Regions from separate parts of the Homo sapiens genome. Here region 2 is linked to region 1. Evidence: promoter capture Hi-C in human tissues and cell types (Jung and others, 2019). All regions are on one chromosome and are shown on one strand. The core of a region is centred on a gene start or on the middle of the fragment in contact, and the rest is flanking DNA. Distances in the headings are between cores, read along the strand shown. Region 1 holds the start of IRGM (immunity related GTPase M). Region 2 overlaps ANXA6 (annexin A6).

Region 1 (4,098 bases), core at 144-2,643:
GTGTGCATGCCGAGGGTGAGTGAGAGTGTGTGTGTGGGGGGGTAAGTAAACATGGCTGGGCATGGGTGAGTGTGCACACCAGGTATGAGTGGCTGTGTGCAGTGTTGTGTGTGTTCACAATGAGTGTGTGAAACAGACCTGCCAGGCCATGCTAGTGAGAGGTGACAGCATGCTGGCAGCCCTCGCAGCCCTCGCTGGCTCTCGGAGCCTCCTCAGCCTTGGCGCCCACTCTAGTGGCACTTGAGGAGCCCTTCAGCCCGCCGCTGCACTGTGGGAGCCCCTTTCTGGGCTGGCCAAGGCCGGAGCTGGCTCCCTCAGCTTGTGGGGAGGTGTGGAGGGAGAGGCACGGGCAGCAACTGGGGCTGCGGGCGTCGCTTGCGGGCCAGCACGAGTTCCGGGTGGGCGTGGGCTCAGCGGGCCCGCGCTCAGAGCAGCCATCCGGCCCCGATGGCCCCTGGCAGTGAGGGGCTTAGCACCTGGGCCAGCAGCTGCTGTGCTGGATTTCTCCCCGGCCTTAGCTGCCTCCCCGCAGGGCAGGGCTTGGGACCTGCAGCCCGCCATGCCTGAGCCTCTCTCCCCTGCCCCACTCCGTGGGCTCCTGCACAGCCCGAGCCTCCCCTATGAGCGCCGCTCCCTGCTCCACGGCGCCCAGTCCCATCCACTGCCCAAGGGCTGAAGAGTGCAGGCGCATGGCCGGGGACTGCCAGGCAGCTTCACCTGCGGCCTGGTGCAGGATCCACTGGGTGAAGCCAGCTGGGCTCCTGAGTCTGGTGGGGACTTGGACAACATTTATGTCTAGCTAAGGGATTGTAAATACACCAATCAGCACTCTGTATCTAGCTCAAGGTTTGTAAACACACCAATCAGCACCCTGTGTCTAGCTCAGGGTTTGCGAACACACCAATCGACCCTCTGTATCTAGCTAATCTAGTGGGGACATGGAGAACTTTTGTGTCTAGCTCAGGAATTGTAAATGCACCAATCAGCACCCTGTGTCTAGCTCAGGGTTTGTGGATGCACCAATCAGCACTCTGAGCCTAGCTAATCTGGTGGGGACTTGGAGAATCTTTATGTCTAGCTAAGGGATTGTGAATGCACCAATTGGCACTCTATATCTAGCTCAAGGTTTGTAAACACACCAATCAGCACCCTGTGTCTAGCTCAAGGTTTGCAAATGCACCAATCTATACTCTGTATCTAGCTAATCTAGTGGGGAGGTGGAGAACTTTTGTGTCTAGCTCAGGGATTGTAAACACACCAATCAGCACCCTGTCAAAATGGACCAATCAGCTCTCTGTAAAACAGACCAATCGGCTCTCTGTAAAATGGACCAATCAGCAGGATGTGGGTGGGCCAGATAAGAGAATAAAAGCAGGCTGCCCGAACCAGCAGTGGTAACCTGCTCAGGTCCCCTTCCATGCTGTGGAAGCTTTGTTTTTTTGCACTTTGCAGTAAATCTTGCTGCTGCTCATTCTTTGGGTCCACACTGCCTTTATGAGCTGTAACACTCACCGTGAAGGTCTGCAGCATCACTCCTGAAACCTGTGAAACAACGAACCCCCCGGGGAGAAACGAACAACTCCAGACTCGCCGCCTGAAGAGCTGTAACTCTCACTTCGAAGGTCTGCAGCTTCGCTCCTGAGTCAGTGAAACCACGAACCCACCGGAAGGAAGAAACTCTGAACACATCCAAACATCAGAAGGAACAAACTCCGGACACGCAGCCTTTAAGAATTGTAACACTCACCGCGAGGGTCCGTGGCTTCATTCTTGAAGTCAGTGAGACGAAGAACCCACCAATTCCGGTAGGAGTAGGAAATCACATCACCTTCTTTTAATCAGTCTCAAATACCTGGCCCCTTGTGGAACCTGCAAGAGCCAGGTTTGGCGAATGCAATGATAAGCAATTGTCTAATCACTGCCTTGAAAAAGAGCAGAGCATTTGAGTATGCTGTCTCCTCCTCTCCCTCACTTCAGTTGGGCCCAACATGACAGTCTTAATGGAAGCTCGGGGGTCAAAGGCTGGTGGCTTACTTCACGTATATTGCAGCATTTCAGTACTGCTCTGCACGTGTGCTCCCCCGCCTGATGAGGTAAGTGTTAAACAGGGATGATCACAGCTTCAAGTAAGCAATGGGAATTGGATGTTTTATGTCCTCTGGCGCCATCTTCAGCAGAGAAATATATAGGTCACTTTTACTTGTCTGGTTTTGGTCTTGAAATATGTACTGAAACTTGTGAAGGAGCAGACCTATATTAGGATAGAGTAAAAGAGGGAAAGACAAAAACCTCTTGGGCTTTTCAGGAGACTTGGTTCATTCTCTGCTTTTCAAGCCATCTCATGGCCACATGCCTGCTTTGGAGGCTGACTCGGAGGCACAACCGGCCTCAGGGCGTTCCTCAGGGACCCTACCTTTCTTGCTCCCTGAAGAAATGTGCACATTGCTTGAATAAAAACAATCAAAGAACACTCAGTCAAGATCGTCTGCTGCAGTCTTCGTTGAGGGCTGGGGATGCTAAAAGTCAGATGATTCATGTGTACCCTGTCCATCCTAACTCACCTGCTCTTCTACTTCCGCAGCTTACTCCAGTGCCCACAGATACGACAGAGTGTCCCAAGTGCCCCTCACACTCTATTAGCTGCATCCTTAACCTCTTTTTGCCACACCATAAGCATTGGGTTTTGTTTGTTTTGAGATGGAGTCTTGCTCTGTTGCCAGGCTGGAGTGCAATGGCGTGATCTCAGCTCACTGCAATATCTGCGTCCAGGGTTCAAGCGATTCCCCTGCCTCAGCCTCCTGTATTAGCTGGGACTACAGGCGCACACCACCACGCGCAGCTAATTTTTTTGTATTTTAGTAGAGAAGGTTTCACGATGTTGGCCAGGATGGTCTCAATCTCCTGACCTCGTGATCTGCTCGCCTCGGCCTTCCAAAGTGCTGGGATTACAGGCATGAGCCACGGCGCCTGGCCAGCATTGGGGTATTTTATTGAAGATGGAAGCCATGAATGTTGAGAAAGCCTCAGCAGATGGGAACTTGCCAGAGGTGATCTCTAACATCAAGGAGACTCTGAAGATAGTGTCCAGGACACCAGTTAACATCACTATGGCAGGGGACTCTGGCAATGGGATGTCCACCTTCATCAGTGCCCTTCGAAACACAGGACATGAGGGTAAGGCCTCACCTCCTACTGAGCTGGTAAAAGCTACCCAAAGATGTGCCTCCTATTTCTCTTCCCACTTTTCAAATGTGGTGTTGTGGGACCTGCCTGGCACAGGGTCTGCCACCACAACCCTGGAGAACTACCTGATGGAAATGCAGTTCAACCGGTATGACTTCATCATGGTTGCATCTGCACAATTCAGCATGAATCATGTGATGCTTGCCAAAACCGCTGAGGACATGGGAAAGAAGTTCTACATTGTCTGGACCAAGCTAGACATGGACCTCAGCACAGGTGCCCTCCCAGAAGTGCAGCTACTGCAGATCAGAGAAAATGTCCTGGAAAATCTCCAGAAGGAGCGGGTATGTGAATACTAATTCCTGTCTTCATTAAACATTTTCCATCTCCTCCTATTGATTCCTTTTCTCCTTTATTTCACTGGACTCATTGAAACACACCTGGTGCAGAAGGGTATCTTACAATTTTCGGGGGCATGTAGAGAGTGTGGTTGTGTTGTTCTTTGAGATCTTTTGAGTGTTGGGGCCAAGATTCCCAGGCAAGGCTGCTTGCTTCGAAGGTCCTTTCCCTTCACGGAACTCTCCACCAGGTGCTAAAAATGATCAGTGTCTTAAAATGGATGCAAGATTATATCATCAGGGTCCTAGCACTCTCAAACTGAGTCATAATGAGGGTATTTTCAAAGGTGTGGACAGGGTGCAGGGAGACCACCAAGACAAAATGTTAACCCCACGGTATAACCTCAAGGCAAGTAATGGTCGGGAGGAGCCCTCTCCAGGTTCGAACAGGCAAGTAGAGAGGCAGGTTGCTTGAATCTCAAGATGGAGTTTATCAGTAATAATAAAGACTTCTGGGCTTAAAAACACACAACTGAGATCTACAACAAAACCTCTAAAACAGAAAAAATAGTAACCA
Region 2 (3,977 bases), core at 403-2,902, 280 kb after region 1:
CACACACTATGCCATCTCTTAATGGTTTTATGTAATTCAACTTCTTTTCTGTCTACTTAAATGCATCAATTTTTGAAGTGCATTTAAAATTACTCCCAAAAGGCAAGGAATTGTATCCGTTTTATCCTGTTACATATCCCAGGTGCCTACAACAGTGTCTGACATAATAGGCACACTCAAAAAATAATTGTTAAGTGGATTAATGAGGCTTGGCACAATGGCTCATGCCTGTAATCTCAGCACTTTGGGAGGCCAAGGCAGGAGGATCGCTTGAGCCCATTGGTTCAAGATGAGCCCAGGCAACATGGTGAAACCCTGTCTCTACACAAATTAGCCAGGTGTGGTGGTGTCCACCTGAGGTCCCAGCTACTTGGGAAGCTAAGTGGAAGGATCACCTGAGCCTGGGGAGGTGGCAGTGAGCCATGATCATGCCACTGTACTCCAGCCTGGATAACAGAGTGAGACCCTGTCTCAAAAAAAAAAAAAAAAAAAGGAATGGATGAAATTAATTTTATATAACTACCATGAATTAGGAAGTTGATACCATGTATCATAAACTGACAATTTACCACAAAAATCAACATAATAAAAACAAAAGAGGTGATATACCATGAAATTTAACATGATGCCTCTACTTGCCAGAAGCTCTGAAACTTAAAGCGAGCTCTCTCAGCTTTCTCTTTGTGAAAAAGGAAAATCAGCAAGTGTTGCAGAGACGGCGGCACCAAACCAAGACTTCCTCTTTGACGTAATCAGAAACGCTGATGAAATTGGAAAGGAGTGCCTTTCTCATTCACTCTGTGGAGTTCAGCGTTATTCAACCCTGCCAAACTAAATTCACTTCTCACATCACCTACAATCATCTGCAAAGATCTCTTGCCTTATCATTTGGGGAACACTGTCCTAGAACATCAGAGCTCAAGAGCCCTAAGAGATCACCGAGATTGCCATGTTAACCCCTCACTTTAAAGATGGAGACATAGAGGCCCAGAGGGAGGGGGCACCTTCCAAAGGTTACATAGCGAATAAGTAACAGAGAGCTCCAAGGTCCCATGCTTTTTTGTGTGGACCAAGTGTTGCAGTCTCTGGAATGGTTTGCCTAAAGTACTTTAGTGAAACCTTTCATTCCTGTCCTTTGTGGACCCCCAGTCTGAGGATGCTCAGGAGGACAACCTGAAATCCTCCAGTGCACCCAGGGATGCCCATCTGTTCTCAGCTTTCATGTCTCTGAGGCCAACTGTTTCGACTCCAGACGGGACAGGCCCCTCCATGGAACCAGCCAGGTCTCCATTTCAGCAAGCCCTGTTAGTAAGTGGGCCAGAACCCTTTCCAGCGTGTCAGAAGCTAATGCAGAAACCAGGTGCGCCCCTCCACCAGTTCACCACTCCAAGGGAGAAAAGGAAGCTTCAGATGTGAGAATCAACGTGTCGGGTTGGCCGCCAGGGGGCAGCTGGGTGCCAACCAGAGCAGCAGGAAGGTGCAAGCAGAGAAGCTGTGGTCAAGAGGTCAAGCAGGAGGAGGGGAAGGTCTGACCTCTACTCGGGCCACTGCACTAAGTTCCCACATCTGATAGGCCACCTGCGCTGCCTCCGGGAAGAACTGGCCAGCAGCACTGGAATGGAGGGGTTTAGGGAGAGGACAGGAAGGAATGTCATCATGGGCAACACTCACACCAACACACACACACACACACACACACACACCCCAACACATACACACACGTGCACACACCACACACACATTAAGCTTTCTTTCTCTCCAGCCTATGCCTCCTCCATTCGCCAGAGTCCTCCCTCCATTTCTGAGAACCTTCCATCTCTTGAGACCCCCTGCAATGCTGCCTTTTTTATTTTTTATTTTTATTTGAGACGGAGTTTTGCTCTTGTCACCCAGGCTGGGGTGCAGTGGCTCGATCTCAGCTCACTGCAACCTCTGCCTCCCAGGTTCAAGCGATTCTCCTGCCTCAGTCTCCCAAGTAGCTAGGATTACAGGCACCCGCCATCACGCCTGGCTAATTCTTGTATTTTTAGTAGAGATGGGGTTTCGCCATGTTGGCCAGGCTGGTCTTGAACTCCTGACCTCAGGTGATCCGCCCGCCTCAGCCTCCCAAAGTGCTGGGATTACAGGCGCTGAGCCACTGTGTCCGGCCAATGCTGGCTTTTAAGGGCAGCCTTCCTGGCTGCAGAGTCCAAGCAGGATAGGATTTTTCCAATCCTTCAGCCTCCCCTTTCTTCCTTAGAATTTGAATGGCTTCTATCCAACTCTCCCCTCTCAAAGAGGCCATTGAGCAAGCTATGGCCATGCCAGCCCTGCATCTCCTCCTGCAAAGTGCCTGGATGCATCAGGAGCTCAGTAATATCTGCTGAACTGCATCAACCCCTATGGTCCTTACCAAAGGTTCACAGGAAATTCTTGCATCCCTTCTGTAATTGGATCTTTATAAGATCCAGAGAAAGGAAATCAGAGCGCAGCCTGTTCCCTTTCTCAAACACAAATCTGGTCAAGTAATGTCCCAATTTAACATTCTGGGAAGAGGCCCCCAGGCCCTCCCACTTCTCTGCCTTATTTCTCTCTCTAGTACTCCATAAATGCATGACTTCGGACATATGAATGAATCAGGCCACTCCTTCTCACTCCTCGGCTTTTCTATAGGTGATTTCCTCCACCCAAACACTGTCCCCAGACCCTCTTCACCTGGCTCTTCCCCTTCCTCCTTGGGTCTCACCGTGTATCTCCAAAGAGTCTCCCCTTGGTCTGGGCTAGGGCATCTCTGTGTGCTTTTATATATGCTTTCTATGTGGCACAGCCAGTTCTCCCCAGCACAGGACTGCTCCCTTCTGGAAACTGGTCTATACCCTTCTGCGCTGTGGCCTTCATCAGGGGCTTCCTCACAGGGTCTGCACCCAGAAGGCACTTAACACAAATATGCTGCATAAATGAGTAGGCAGAGCAGGAATGTGTCCTTTTCCCATTTAACAGGTGATGAAACCGAGAAATGGCTATGAAATAGCAGGGATTGGATGCTCATATTCTGGTTCCTAGTCCACAACCCCAGACTGACTTTCCAAGTTCACAAGAGCAGACATCTCCATATACAGGAGACCACGCTCACGTTCAGACCCCCACACTCTCAGACACACAGACCCACAAGCACAGCAGCTACCAGCAAAAGCCGCCTTTCACTTGTGCGACGCTCCTGGCTCAGGGGAATCCCCAGCTCATCCAATCCACCCATCAGGATGCGAGCCAGGAGAGTCCCCGCCTGGCACCCCAAGGCCATGCCCTCCAGCCAGGGGCCAAGAAGCCACTTACTCATCATCTCCCCCAGACAGCTTCAGCAGAGTCTTCTTGTACTCGCCAGAGGTGTCATTCTGAAGAGAAAGAAAGAAAGGTTACCTCTCACCCAGCCCTGGGCTCCTCTCAGACAAGGAGGTGAAGGTTCTGCACAGCCTGAAAGAGGGGAAGGCTGAATGAACACTTATTCATAGCAGCCCTGGCCCTCCTGTGCTGGTTAATATTGAATAACTGGTTCTCAGCGGGCAGGTTGGAGGAAGCCCTAATTTATAGCATTTGCCTATTTCTGTGGTGTAAATACTTCTAGCAATGGACAATTTCAAGTTACCAATATGACTTTGCTACCAATATGCGGAGTTGAGAAGAGATGCTCGCTGCCCTTTCAAGCCAGTGCCCCAGCACAGCACTGCCACCAGACAGTCCCCAGCCCAGTCCTTCCACATGAAATATGCATGGAAATGGGGTTCCATGAGCAAAAATATTGGGAAATGCAAAAAAATCAAACAAATATATATTACACAGATGCACATATCCGTATAGATGCATATTCCATATCCCTCTTGGGGCTTCATAATGGACTTCAAAATGTGAAAGGCTGTGAGAAGTTCTGAGGTAAAGAAACTGGCTTATTTATCTTTGCTTATTGTGGTTTGTTACAAACTTATTTTCCCATAGAACATTTT

Evidence for each region. Contacts are between HindIII fragments. The study calls those that stand out against the background at their distance.
Region 2: a fragment that was not itself captured here is called in contact with the fragment with the promoter of IRGM in region 1 in 1 of the 25 tissues and cell types used here (H1 embryonic stem cells).

The regions. Positions count from the first base shown.
Region 1 is chr5:150,845,128-150,849,225 of GRCh38, forward strand. It overlaps IRGM (immunity related GTPase M), which reads left to right and starts at 1,394. Exons shown (of 2, transcript NM_001145805.2): 1 at 1,394-2,093; 2 at 2,582-3,575. The coding sequence starts at 2,997. The coding sequence ends at 3,542. RefSeq lists a silencer at 1,980-2,274. The HindIII fragment of the contact is 10,169 bases long and covers 1-4,098 here.
Region 2 is chr5:151,124,869-151,128,845 of GRCh38, forward strand. It overlaps ANXA6 (annexin A6), which reads right to left. Exons shown (of 26, transcript NM_001155.5): 13 at 3,313-3,371; 14 at 1,534-1,612. Among named protein-coding and RNA genes, the nearest start is that of ANXA6, 31 kb to the right of the region's middle. RefSeq lists an enhancer at 1,286-1,445. The HindIII fragment of the contact is 4,399 bases long and covers 1-3,852 here.